Linked DNA regions of Homo sapiens: regions 1, 2 and 3 are each linked to region 4. The links are contacts of gene promoters, found by promoter capture Hi-C in blood cells and fetal thymus (Javierre and others, 2016). All regions are on one chromosome and are shown on one strand. The core of a region is centred on a gene start or on the middle of the fragment in contact, and the rest is flanking DNA. Distances in the headings are between cores, read along the strand shown.

Region 1 (3,250 bases), core at 674-3,173, 220 kb before region 4:
ATTGAATTTCAATTATTTCAAGTTTAGTCTTGAGAAATGCTGTGTACCATCTTACCCTCTTGGAGATTTACATGACAATGAAGGTTCTTGGAAGTTGTCCAGTTATTACATTGTGCTTCATATAACTCAGAGTTGCCAAAAATTATTTGACCATGGGAATCTTCATTGTTATAACCACTAAACATCTCACTGAATAGTACCTTAACAAAACAAACTTTGAGAAAAACTGACCTAAAGAAATGTAGATTAAAGAAAGAAGTAGTAATAACTGTCTTCAAAGCTACAAAGGCTAGACTGTAGGCACTCTATGCACCTGTGATAGTCTAGGTTATGAATAATTTGTACCAAAGTTTATAATAATATAGATTGTAATTAAGATGTGTTTTTAAATTAATTTTTTATTTATGCATAAATTTTTAATTTATCAATACATGTATTTTTATTGATAAATTGTCCTCCATAGTTATGGGGAACATCTTATATTTTGATACATTCATATAATGTGTAATAATCAAATTAGGGGATTAGGATATCCATAACCTTAAACATTTATCTTTTCTTTATGCTGGGAACATTGGAATTATTCTCTTTTAGCTATTTTGAAATATATAATAGATTACTGTTTACCATAGTGCCCCATAATGATTTATCAAACAATAGGTCTTATTTCTTCTATCTAACTGTATTGTTGTACCCATTAATCAACCTCTATTCAACTCCACTCCACTTCTCTGCTACTGGGCCCTGGTAACCACCAATCTACTCTCTAAGGATGCGTGTTATTCTTGTGACTTACCATGGCAGTTACAGATTTTGTTTCCAAGACAAGAGCTAAGTGGAAAAGCTCCAATCCCCTTAGAGGTTGGAATAGGAGACAGACATCTGCAAGTTCATCAAAAGTTGAACCGTCACAACTGTGTCATACACTCTGGGCTGAATCATTTATCTGATTATGTGGACTAAAAGAATGTAGATGTCCAGGGCATCAAAGGGAAGAAATTTTTCTATTGATGAGCTTTCTCAGGGCACCTTTCATATCCTTATTCCTCAAGCTGTAGATGAAGGGGTTCATCATGGGTGTCACCACAGTGAATAGGACAGCACCAATCTTATCAGTGTCCTCAGGGTGAGTGGAGGAGGGGAAAAAGTACACGCCTACAGTGGTTCCGTAGAACAGTAATGCAATTGTCAGGTGAGAGCCACAAGTGGAGAAGGCTTTCCACTTTCCCTGTGTGGATGATACTCCCAGGACAGCTCTGATGATGCAGACATAGGAGAAGAAGATGAGTACAAAGGGGAAGATGATAACTGATAAACCCACAATAAACAACACAAGCTCATTGATCATTGTATCTGAACAGGACAGTTTGAGCAGAGGGGCCAAGTCACAGAAGAAGTGTGGGAGAGTGTTGTGGTCACAGAAGAGCAATTGAATGAGCAGAAGGGTGTGTGTAAGAGCAATAATATTACTGAGGAACCACGAGATGACTGTGAGCAAAGTGCCGAACCTGGCCCGCATGAAAGTTGTATAGTTCAGAGGGTGGCAGATCGCCACAAAGTGGTCGAAGGCCATGGTCCCCAAAAGCAAATTGTCAGTGACGACAAACACAATAGAAAAGTACATCTGTGTGATGCAGCTCTCATAAGAGATGGATTGGCTGTTGGTTTGAATATTCACCAGCATTTTGGGGACTGAGTTGGAAATGGAGGAAATATCAGCAAAGGATAGGTAGGCAAGGAAGAGATACATGGGGGTGTGAAGGTATATATCCAAGCTGATAGCCACAATGATGAGCCCGTTCCCAACCACAGTGACCACATACATACTCAGGAAAAGCACAAAGAGGAGGTTTTGATGTTCAGCCTGGTTGGAGAGTCCCAGGAGAATGAATTCAGTGATGGTGGTTTGGTTTTCTTGATGCATATTTCTGCTGATCTGAAGAAAGGAACACAAAGTCTTCATACACCTACAAGAAAATTTAACATGGTGTCATTTGGCTGCAGCCATTACAGTAAGGCACTTCCTTTAAGCTGATGAGCAATAAAGCTTCTTCTGCTTATTAAGTGGAAGTGCTACTTAATAAGGAAGTATTTCAGCAGTGCAGAGATTTGGAAAATGCCACAGAAAAAGACAGGACATGGCAGATTCTTCTCAATGAACATGTTTTAAACTCTAACAGAATTCTGAATGTGATTTTCCCAGTTGGTTCTAAATGTAGGTTAAATCCCCCAAACTGAGGATCATAGGTGAGGCATACCCTATATTCTAGAGATGTTAGGTACATGTGCAGGAATTACTTAAAAGTTACCAAACTGGTCCCCAAATCATCTCCCTTGTTCAACTTTATGCCTTAAATCTAAGAAAGGAGAAATTTCAAGTCTCGTAAAAGTGAAGAGACTGGAGAAGGAAACACAACTAAGGGTTAGGAATGGCTATGGGAGTGTACACCATTGTGTGGGTGCTTCATCCCATTAACGCCGGGGGAGAACTCCAAAACAAGTGCTTTTGGAGAATAAGTACAAGTAGGAGCAATCAGGGTTTTACTTCATCTGTGGCTAGATATTAGCTTCAAGAAAATTTAGGGGGCACAGATACACTTAAAGACTTCTGTTTGCCTCTCATTTCTAAAGGTGAGGGGCTCACTGGATCAGGTCGTGATGGCAGGGTAGAGGGAAAAGATGGTGGTTAGTAGGGCAATCTGCATTTTCACCCATGACATGGCATAAATATGTGAATTTCCCATAGGACACGTGATGCTATAGGAGGTCATTGGAGTCAAGTCACCTTGTTGAGATTCCAATCCAGAGACAGCCTATTGGGGCAGAGGAGGCTGTAGCAATAAGAAACCATGAGGTGGGTCTCTTTTGAAAGAGAGATCTTAAAGAGATCAGGGACATAATTCATTGCCCTTGTCAGGGAACCGCATAATGGGGCAGTCTCCAAAAGGGAGCCTCTGACAATCCTCAAAATGATCTCAAGAGACACCATGCCTGCCACATATAAGGCACAAGCTGCTAGTATCTATGGCAACAGATATGAACACTTTTGCCTTTTTTCCCATCCCCATTCTTCCTCCCTGACCTGATAAAACTGAAAAAGAAGGAAAGACCAAAATGACTAAAACAACAACAACAATAGTAACAACAACGGTTTTGCGGGAAGAGAGGCCAAAGAGCAAGGGAAGAACATATGCTCCCACCTTTCCACTGTATGACCCAAGCTACACATCAGATCTGAACTTACAAGGTA
Region 2 (3,591 bases), core at 64-2,563, 160 kb before region 4:
GTTCTGGGAAAGGCAGTTCCTGGTAAGAACTCTCCCTACGGCCCCTTTCATCTCACTGTTCCTCAGGGCATAGATAAGTGGGTTGAGCAGTGGGGTTCCCAATGTGTACACCAGTGAGATGAACCGATCTTGCTTGGGGTTGTAGCTGGAGCTGGGGCACAGGTACATGAAGGCACAGCAGCCATACTGCAGCAGCACCACAGTGAGGTGGGAAGAGCAGGTGGAGAAGGCCCGGTGGCGGCCAGCAGCCGAGTGGATCTTGAGCAGAGCAGCCACTATGAAGGTGTAGGAGGTGGTGATGAGGAAGAAAGGCACAGCAATGGCTAGTATGGCTGCCACCAGCACTGACTGCTCATGAATGTGACTCTGAGCACAAACAACATGCATGACTGGTGGCACATCACAAAAGAAGTGCTCAATGCCCTGAGCCTGGCAGAATGGCAGAGAGAAGATGAAGGCCACCAGTTGTAAGGACAGGAACAGACCACTGATGACTGATGCCACAACCAAGTGGACACAAAGAGTCAATGTCATGAGGAGAGGGTACTGCAACGGGTGGCAAATGGCCACATAGCGGTCATAGGCCATGGCAGCCAAGAGGAAGCAATCAGCACTGCCCAGTGCAATGAAGAAAGCCATCTGGGTGGCACAGCCCAGGAGAGTGATGGTCTTCTCTGACTGTAGGGTGTTGGCCAGGATATGGGGCACCACCACTGCAGTGTAGCATATTTCAATCCCAGAAAGGCTGCCCAGGAAATAGTACATGGATGTGCATAGACAGGTTTCTGTGTGAATGGACACCACAATGAGAATGTTCCCAGTGATGATCAAACCATAAACCAGGCTGACCCCAAGGAAGGACAGAATATGCAGTTCTGGGCAGGAGGGATAGGCCAGGAACACAAATTCCATCAACACTGAGTGATTTTCCCAGGTAATTGAGCTAACAGTATTTCTCTGTGGAGAGCTACAAGTACAGAAGGAAGAATCAGACTGAAGATAAATTAAGTTACACTCTGAGCCATGAATCTAATGTAATCAGCACTGGAGTTAGAAACTGGAAGGATCAAGACTAGTTCTTTTTCTTTTCTCCACTTTTACCAAGTTTCTCCACATTAATATCTACACCTCAATTTCTACCTGCCAAGAGTTGGGCCAAACTATGTAAGATACTATTGAAGAAAAATGGCAGAGGAAGTGGGTGGGATTCAGGAGCTATTTTCAGAAAGAGTGGAATGAAAATTCAATTCTTTCAGCAAATTCACAAGAAAGTGTCAAGGAATTCTTGGGGCTAGAAATCATTAAGGTAAGGGAGATAAGCCATTTATTCATTCACTTATTCATTCACATATTTATTAGGTTGGTGCAAAAGTAGTTGCGGTTTTGCCATTTTGATGGCAAAAACTGCAATTACTTTTGCACCAACCTAATATTTACACTCAATATCTCCTGGGGTATTGAATAAGTGATATGTCAATGTAACTCTCAAAACTAGTGATGGGAAGTGAAGAAAGAAAAAAAATTACCCATGAAGCAAAGGGCTAACAGAGGCCTGAGTATGACAGTGTCAGGGATACGCCTCAGAAAGCAAAGCCCTGTCTACTATTGGTTTTTCTATCCTTATCTGACCAGAAGTATAAGGCTTGAAGGAAACAAGGTGTTTTATCATATGTTTCCTCCTGGCGTGGGTGGAGGTATGAGAAAATATGTGATCCCAAGATGTTGGAAATCTAAGAAGCCTTCCTGTGAATTTGGGCATGATTATGAAAGTCTAAGCCCATCTATTTTTCATATTTCTCAGAAGCTAATGTGAAATCTGGGAGAAGCCATATCTTTTCCACAAAAACCTTTTAATAAACAGACGTAATTTGCAAAGGGCATCCATTCCACTTCTTTTCCCAGACCAACTCATATTAAATAAGGTGGAAAAGACGTAATGTGTGGCCTTGTTTCAACGTGCCAAATTTTAATATTTCCTGTCATTGAATATGAGATTTGAAGAGAAATCTCTACCCAGAGGCACCACTTCCAGTAAAAATTATTCACACAAACCCACCTCAGTGTCACAAGCATGGGGAAAAATATGAGTAGGCAGCTACAAATATTAAGAGCACCTAGGGCAGAAATGGCTCTCTGCTGTTTTTCCAACAGCTAACAAGTGGTATCTATTTCAGTTGGTCTCTTTTCCTGAGCTGAACTTCAATAATGCTTTGAGTGGTTTCTAATGCCACTTAGCATATTGCACATTATACTATATCATGTGGAGGAGGGGCAGTGTATCAATGTGAAATCAGCAGTGAAGGGAAGTGATGTGGTTTGAATAATTCCAGCTCCTGGCTTCATGATGTTAGGTAATATATAATTTCTCTAAGCCTCAATTTCTGTATTTGAAAAATGGGAATAATAATTATACTTAGACAAAAGAATTGCTGTAAGTTTAAATGCAATAGTAATGTAAGATATCACAATGAACTGTCCATAGTAATGGCAACCTAATAAAAGATAATCATCATTATTATTTATAAATTCAAGGGCAGCCATTCTGCTTTATTTACATTTTGATCATCCCATATAAGCACGCCTAATGTTGTGCAAATTTTAGACACTCAATAATTATATGTCGAATGGATAATACAGCTTGAAAATGTTATTTATACATTTTCTTCATTTTCTACTTTCACTTTGCCGTGCAATGAAAGATTTAAGATTATTCATAATCAAATCACTTGTTTAGGAGTCCTTATATAAAACAACTTCGTATCTAAGATTTGGGCTGCACTGTGGAAATAATTCTATCATTCAAGAACATAGCATATGGAAGTCTACAACAGGCACACATCTAAAGGCTAGTCTACCATCTATATTATTATACAGAGACAGTTTGAAATCTGTGTCACAATGACAACTTCTGAGAATTTTATTGTAGTCTATTACATTCATATCATCTTTTCAAAAAGTTATATTTTGTTTTTAATTGACAATAATAATTGTACAATGTGATGCTTTGATACATATACACATTGTGGAATGATCAAATCAGGCTAATCAGCATATCCGTCATGTCATATAGTTATCATCTGAATACTGCTCTCTATAATATTTGTAATCTGAACACTCCACCTATAATAAAATATTTAAAATATTTACATCAGAGCTATTATAAGTCATAAATTCTAACTGCAAGAAGGGACCTCAAAAATGGCCAATTTGATCCCCAGTTATTAGATACTTGAATTTCCAATACAGTGTGTAGACACTGGGTCACCTTCAATGCCCAGGGAATCCCATTATCTCCTGGTTTGCTTGCTCTGCTGTGGAAAGACTGGATTCTCTGAAAGTCATTTCTGTAATAAACTGAAGCCTGCCTCTGTGCAACTTCTAAATGTTCCTTTGTTCTACACAATATGGCCATTTTTTTCTTTCTTTCTCTCTTTCTCTCCCTTTCTTTCTTTCTTTCTTTCTTTCTTTCTTTCTTTCTTTCTTTCTTTCTTTCTTTCTTTCTTTCTCTCTTTCTCTCTTTTTCTTTTTTTAGATGGAGTTTCACTCTTGTTGTCCAGGCTGGAGTTCAATGGCATGATTTCAGCTCACTGC
Region 3 (3,308 bases), core at 562-3,061, 200 kb before region 4:
TATTTGGGGTTGGAACACAACCCCATGTACATGAAGAGGTAACAGCCATTCTGCTGCAAAACTATGCTGAGGTAGGAGTAGTGCCATAGTAGTGCTACCTGCTCAGTGGATCTGTGAGCAGCAGCCCTCATGAAGGTGTAGGAGGTCGTGAGGAAGGTGGAACAGCAAAGACTAGTGTGAGAGCCACCAGCACAGAGGGCTCATGCAGGCAGGGCTGGCATAGACCAGAGGTAATTCTCCATACCCTAGCAAGGCTGGTACATAGTAGGTGATTAGTCAATGAAAGAAAATTCCTAGCCCCTTTCTGGCATGAAGAAAATGAAAGCAACCAGTTGGGATGTATGGTGCAAAGGAAATTAATGCATTAAGTAAGCTATTGTTTGTCATATACTGATACCCAAAACAATAATAAAATGTGTTTATTTGAGCAAAATATGTCTTTATGAATATTCCTTACTTAAGGCAACTTTCACAGGGTAAATTACATCATCTCCCCAGGAGGCAGCATGCCTATCAGCCTTTATTCACAGTATGTATGGGGTGTTCCTAATATGGCAATTGACATAGGTGAGCTGCAAATCCTTAAAGTAGAGCTAAGTAAACTAGCATTCCTACGCTGTAAGTTCTGTCCAAATTTTCATATCTTAGTCAAAGCACTTCAGAAAAATGAGCATGAATTGTGAACTTGGGGCAAATATGGCAAAAAAGAAACATCAAGTGCACAGTGTGAGAAAGTACTACAGTTCTGTGTCATTTAGAGTTCTTTGACACAGCAACAGACAGACACCCAGCCCAGTGCCCCTAAGCCTTCAGTTGGCGTCAGAGGCTGCTTTACGGATAATGGCACTCCTCAGAGCACCTTTGACATCCTTGTTCCTAAGGCTGTAAAGCAAAGGGTTGAGTAAGGGGGTGACAAAGGTGTAGACCAACGCGATTTGGCTGTCCTCATCCTCTGAGGTGCTGGACCGAGGACGCAGGTACACGAGGCTGCAGCAGCCATACTGCAGCAGGACCACGGTGAGGTGGAAGGAGCAGGTGGAGAAGGCCCGGCGGCGGCCCTCGGCAGAACGGATGCTCAGGATGGCACAGGTGATGAACACGTAGGAGACGCAGATGAGCAGGAAGGGGATGGTCAGCACGAGGATGCTCACGACATAGAGGACAGCCTGGTGCACGCGGATGTCAGCGCAGGCCAGGCGCAGGACGGGAGGCACATCGCAGAGGAAGTGGTTGATTTCCTGGTGGTGGCCGCAAAAGGGCAGGGTGAAGATTAAGGCGGTGAGCTGCAGGGAGGGGAAGAGGGCCAGGCCCAGGGCCCCACCCAGCATCTGCGTGCACAGCTCGCGGGTCATGATGAGGGTGTAGTGCAGCGGGTGGCAGATAGCCACATAGCGGTCATAGGCCATGATCGCCAAGAGGAAACAGTCCGTGCTGCCGAGGGTGACAAAGAAGAACATTTGGGCCCCACATCCAGCCAACGAAATGGGCTTCTGGGCCCCCAAAATGTTGGAAAGCATCAAGGGTACTACCACGGTGGTGTAGCAGAGTTCCAGGAAAGACAGGTTGGACAGGAAGAAATACATCGGGGTGCGGAGGGTGCTGTGTGTGCACACCACCCAGATGATGGCTGTGTTGCCACAGAGGATCATCAAGTAGAGGAGGAGGAAGAGAAGGAAGAGAAGAACCTGGAATTCAGTGGCTGTGGTGAACGCACGGAACACAAACTCAGTGGGCTCAGACTGGTTGAAGACAAGTTTCCCCACAGGCATGTCTTATGCAAAAGAATAGGACGCGCTGAGCTCTTCTTGGCTGAGTTGCTTTATTTCTTTTTTTTCTTTTTGAGACGGAGTCTCGCTCTGTCGCCCAGGCTGGAGTGCAGTGGCGGGATCTCGGCTCACTGCAAGCTCCGCCTCCCGGGTTCACGCCATTCTCCTGCCTCAGCCTCCCAAGTAGCTGGGACTACAGGCGCCTGCCACTACGCCCGGCTAATTTTTTTGTATTTTTTTAAGTAGAGACCGGGTTTCACCGTTTTAGCCGGGATGGTCTCGATCTCCTGACCTCGTGATCCGCCCGCCTCGGCCTCCCAAAGTGCTGGGATTACAGGCGTGAGCCACCGCGCCCGGCCGCTTTATTTCTTTAGTAAAAGCAGGAGTGTACAATTTTATTTGGAATTAACTATTTAGTAGCTAGTTTCCAATCACGGTGCATGAGAATGAATTCACGATATAGGGTTTGGTATACTTTTCCTTGGAAATCCTCATGAATGGGATAGACAGTCATCTGCAGAAATTCCTGGGGGCAAGACATGTAGACACATGTAGATGTTCCTTGTGAAATATCTCCCCCCACCCCGATATTTTCAATCCAATTGATAAGACTTAATTATTTTGCTTGTATTTAATTACAGTGAAGAGTTGTATGGTTGCACATATTTTAAAATTAGATAAATGAATTTGTCTTTTACTTTTTTCAGTAAGCACTCTCATTGAAATATAACATACATGTGGAGGAATTCACAAATCCTAAGTGTGAAGCTTGATTTGTTTATTTATTTTAACATCGTAAATACGCCAGTATAACCACTACAAAGATTAAGAAATAGAACGATTCCAGTGACCTACAAACATCCTTCATGTTCTCAGTCTTTATGCTTCACAAAAGTAACCACTTTTTGACTTTTATCATTACAGATTGATGTAACTATGTTTCAACTTATATATGAAATGCTAAAGCATGTACTTTATTGTAACTGGCTTCAACATTATGTCTGCAAAGGTTATTCTTGTTGTTCTGAATCAATCCTTTGTTCTTTCCATTGCTTTATGGCTATAAGTTATTCACTTTACATTCAGTTATTTTGACTCCACATACAAGTAGGAAAACACCCATTGTTACAATCTTTTCTGATATGTACTCTTCATATATTTCCTCTCTTTTGAACATTTTATCTAAATTTCCAACAGGAAGCTAAACTTTTGGACTCAAATAGTTTCAAATGAAAGGGAAGTGAACAGAGTCAGGTTAAAATTAAAGTGGAGCTTCCTGAGATAAGAAAAGACAATGAGGAAACTAAAAATGCAATAGCACAATTGAATTATGCATTAACATAATCAAGAGAATAAGAAAGACCTTTGCAAGCATCTGGGAAGTTAAAAATACCTGTGAATTAAGCACTTTCAGGTTAGACTACAACTTTATTTTTAATACAAAAATTTAAGAGACAATACAAAATATCTACAGAATTTTAAGAAAAACAAATTGGAGTGAAAGAATTCTGTATCAAAGCCTTAGTGATTTATGTTCAAAAG
Region 4 (3,588 bases), core at 827-3,326:
TTTATTTATTCATTTATTCATTTAGATACATTCTCTCATTGCCTCAACAAGTATTTAGAGTGCCCATCATTTTCTAAATGTTCTTCTAAGCACATGGATTTTTTGTGTGTATAAGGGTTTTGTTTTTTGTTTTTTTGCTTTTATTTTAAGTTCAGGGATACATGTACAGGCTTGTTACATAGGTAAATTTGCATCATGGGGGTTTGTTATACAGATTATTTCATCACTCAGGTATTAGCCTGGGACCCATTAGTTATTTTTTTTCTGATCCTCTCCCTCCTCCTATCCTCCACCCTTCGATAGGCACCAATGTCTGTTGCCCTCTAAGCATATGAATTTTAAATGATGAGAATAATACCATCTTCTATTATTTGAATAAAATCACCATTTTCCCAATTAATGGAGATTGTTGTAACACCTGGACTGTGGCTAAATAGCGTGATAGCATGAAAATATTAAAAGCTGGGAAACTGAACTCTGATTACTCAATGGGAAAATGTTTGCCCTTGAACTTTTATATAACACATATTCTATTACTACAACCTAAACAGACCGTAGAACAGAGCTAGAAACTTACCTTGCTCTTCAAGGAAGATGACACACTTTCAGTTGGTATCTTCAAATTGCAAGTCCTACTCAAAGAAGAAAGAAAAGCTCCTATTTAAGAAGTTATTATTTAATGTCTAGTCACAAATATTGAAGTTCTCTAGAGGGAGGGAGATTTAAGGAAAAAGTAATGACTAGGTGGAGATTAGAAAATATTCTCCAACTTGTCACACAGGGCTGCTGCTGTGAGGAAAAATAGAAGTCTCTGAATGCACTCTGTAAAGTCCTAAAGAGCTGTAAGAAGGGATCATCGTATCTGCAATGAACATCATTTTTAGCTGGGGGTCTTATCCCTGGCCATTGTTGCAGACTCAGAGTAATATACCAGTGTGAAATAAGGCCACTTAGTACAATGGACAACCTTTTACACTGAGATCAATAAATGATCACCAAAAGGTGACACACAGGGTGGAACCTCTAACATGATGTTAAATAGAGTCATGTTGGGATGTTAGAGACCAATGACTGGGAACTAACAATAATTGAGGAATTTGAACGTACATAAAGTTCTCAGGGGACAAGTTACCCATGAGAATAACCACAGTCTCTCACTCCAATCATCTAGAGAAGCAATAATTAAACTGCATATGAAAGCCTGGTTCCATTTTCTTAGGAAGAACACCAGTGTATTTACTTTACTCAGGGTTATTTCTTCTTGGTAATGTGAACATCTTCAGAAAAGATTCATCATTAACTTTCCTGGCAGAAATCAGACAGAATCATGAGTGGCATAATGGAAACTAGGCTAAAGTGTTATGTAAGTTTCGTTGGCCGATGGCAGCATAACTTCACAAAGTTCATATTGAGATTATAGGTTGTATAAACACTTACGCACTTCAGTTCTCTCATTAATAAAACAGAGATGAGTATTTTTTTTCTGAGATAGCAGAATGGATGCTTTGCCAGAATCCTTGCTCACTTGGAAATAGCAAGTGGTGTGTAGAGATTCACACTGTGAATTTGCATCCAAGTAGAAACATGATTGTTCAATATAAAAGTGAAAGAAAACTTTGTATACTGCTGAAAACAAGACAGACAGCAGCCCAAATGGAAAACTGTGAATCAGTCCCTCCATATGTGAGAGGGGGAGTGCTCCACAATACACATACCCACCAGGAAGCCAGGCAACCTAGGCTATCGGGAACTTTTTGAGTTTCCCAAAACCTGGATCAGACTTGGGGAACAGTCAAGGGACTGTGAGAAGGAAGAGCACTGGGAAGTACCCCACATGCACTCTCAGACTTAAGGACCAATGGAAGGAGGTCATTCCTGATGCTAACTCATAGTGGGTTGCACAGGAACCTGCCAGCTAGCATTGGTGTCAGTCACTGGTTTGTAGAGTTGTTAGCCAGAGATTTGTGATCTTACCTTGATTGGAGGAGGAATCCACATGGCCAGAATGGAGAGGCAAGAATAGCATGGGCTTCAGCTGTGGACAATGGAATTGGGAATCCACCTTGCAGGACAAGACCAGGAGGGTTTGAGTCTGAGAGGAGTGGTTTTGACCACGGTAGCAAGTTTTGCAGCCTGAGGCATTTTCACACTCTAAAGGCAAAGTGCATTTGAGTTGGCTAACTGTCCCAACGCACTGCTAGTGTCCAGCTGTGGGAAAGAGCCCTGCTGGGTTTAATGAGAGCAAACTGGGTCTTACTACCCCTTGATAGGCCATGGAGCCTAGGATGTACTCTTTCCCTCATGGGGTCATTGGCATAGCAGCAGTTGCTCTGCTTATTGCTGGAGCGTTTCTTCAGAGGTCTGAGGATTGCTCTCTGAACCTTGTAAGGGCCAGCACTTGTACATGCCATCGTGGGGTTCAAGTGCAGACTTGCACAACCCAACACTGCCCAGCTTTGCCCTCTTGCCTTGGATACAAAGCATGGAACCAGGACCACTGTGTGTTCCATAGCCCAAATCATTATCTGGGACACCCAAACCAGTACACTAAGGATATTTACAAACAAGAAAATCATACAGAGTCTACACCAGTTTAGACAGCCAGAAACAAAGCCAAATAACCCTACTCAGCATACATTATAGTCACATTCCCAAGAAAAATAAGTCACACCCCAATGAAAGTAAATTCAATAATAGAAGTGACTAATTCTCCAGATGCAAAGAAATCAGGATAATAATACTGGAAGTATGAAAAACAAAGTGCTATAACACCTCCAAAGGAGCACAGTAATTCTCTAGCAATGGATTTGAACCAATAAGAAATCTTCAAAATGTCAGATAAAGAATTCAAAATACTGATTTTAAAGAAGTTCTATAAGACATAAGAGAAAACTGAATACCAATGCAAAGACATCAGAAAATCAATTCCTGATATGAGCTAGAAATTTACCAAGAAGGTAGAGATCTTAAAGAAACAAACAACTTCTGGAAATGAAAATTTCACTGAAAGAATTATGAAGAACAGTTGAAAGCCTTAAGAATAGACTAGAACGAGCAGAGAAGAGAATCTCAAAATTTGAAGACAGGTCTTTTGAATTAATTCAATCAGACAAAAATAAAGAAAGGAGAATAAAGAAGAACAAACAAAGCCTTTAAGAAGTATGGGACTACATAAAGCAACCAAACATATGAAGTATAAGTATTTCCAAGGGAGAAGAAAAAGCAAAAAGTTCAGAAACCCTATTTAAGGAAATAATTGACAACAAGTTTCCCGAGTTTGGGAAGAGATTTACACATCCAGATACAATAAGCCCAACAAACTACAGGAAAATACATTGTAAAAAGGACCTCAACATGACATATAGTCATCAGATTGTCTAAAGTCAACATGAAAGAAAAATCCTAAAATCAGCATGAGAAAAGTGTCTAGTCATCTATAAAGAAAACACCATTAGAATAATAGTGGACTTTAAAAGCAGAAACCTTACAAGCCAGAAAAAATAGAGATTCTATTTTTAAAGTACTTAAAGGAAAAAAAAAACCCTGTCAACCACCAATTTTATATCCTATTCAGAATAAGCTTCATAA

What was found. Contacts are between HindIII fragments. The CHiCAGO score rates a contact against its expected background, and 5 or more counts as called.
Region 1: a contact is called between the fragment with the promoter of OR1S2 here and the fragment with the promoter of OR5B2 in region 4, in 12 of 17 cell types (M2 macrophages, neutrophils, endothelial precursors and 9 more). The highest score is 8.7, in M2 macrophages.
Region 2: the fragment with the promoter of OR10W1 here is called in contact with the fragment with the promoter of OR5B2 in region 4 in 16 of 17 cell types (neutrophils, fetal thymus, monocytes and 13 more); the score reaches 15.9 in neutrophils.
Region 3: the fragment with the promoter of OR10Q1 here is called in contact with the fragment with the promoter of OR5B2 in region 4 in 15 of 17 cell types (naive CD8 T cells, total CD8 T cells, neutrophils and 12 more); the score reaches 12.0 in naive CD8 T cells.

The regions. Positions count from the first base shown.
Region 1 is chr11:58,202,219-58,205,468 of GRCh38, forward strand. It overlaps OR1S2 (olfactory receptor family 1 subfamily S member 2), which reads right to left and starts at 1,924. Exons shown (of 1, transcript NM_001004459.2): 1 at 986-1,924. The coding sequence starts at 1,924. The coding sequence ends at 986. The HindIII fragment of the contact is 6,408 bases long and covers 1-2,045 here.
Region 2 is chr11:58,266,947-58,270,537 of GRCh38, forward strand. OR10W1 (olfactory receptor family 10 subfamily W member 1) reads right to left here and starts at 1,314. Exons shown (of 1, transcript NM_207374.3): 1 at 1-1,314. The coding sequence starts at 912. The HindIII fragment of the contact is 7,272 bases long and covers 1-3,591 here.
Region 3 is chr11:58,227,107-58,230,414 of GRCh38, forward strand. OR10Q1 (olfactory receptor family 10 subfamily Q member 1) reads right to left here and starts at 1,812. Exons shown (of 1, transcript NM_001004471.2): 1 at 776-1,812. The coding sequence starts at 1,769. The coding sequence ends at 810. The HindIII fragment of the contact is 6,807 bases long and covers 1-2,532 here.
Region 4 is chr11:58,426,045-58,429,632 of GRCh38, forward strand. OR5B2 (olfactory receptor family 5 subfamily B member 2) reads right to left here and starts at 2,077. Exons shown (of 3, transcript NM_001005566.3): 1 at 1,975-2,077; 2 at 578-632. The HindIII fragment of the contact is 6,968 bases long and covers 1-3,578 here.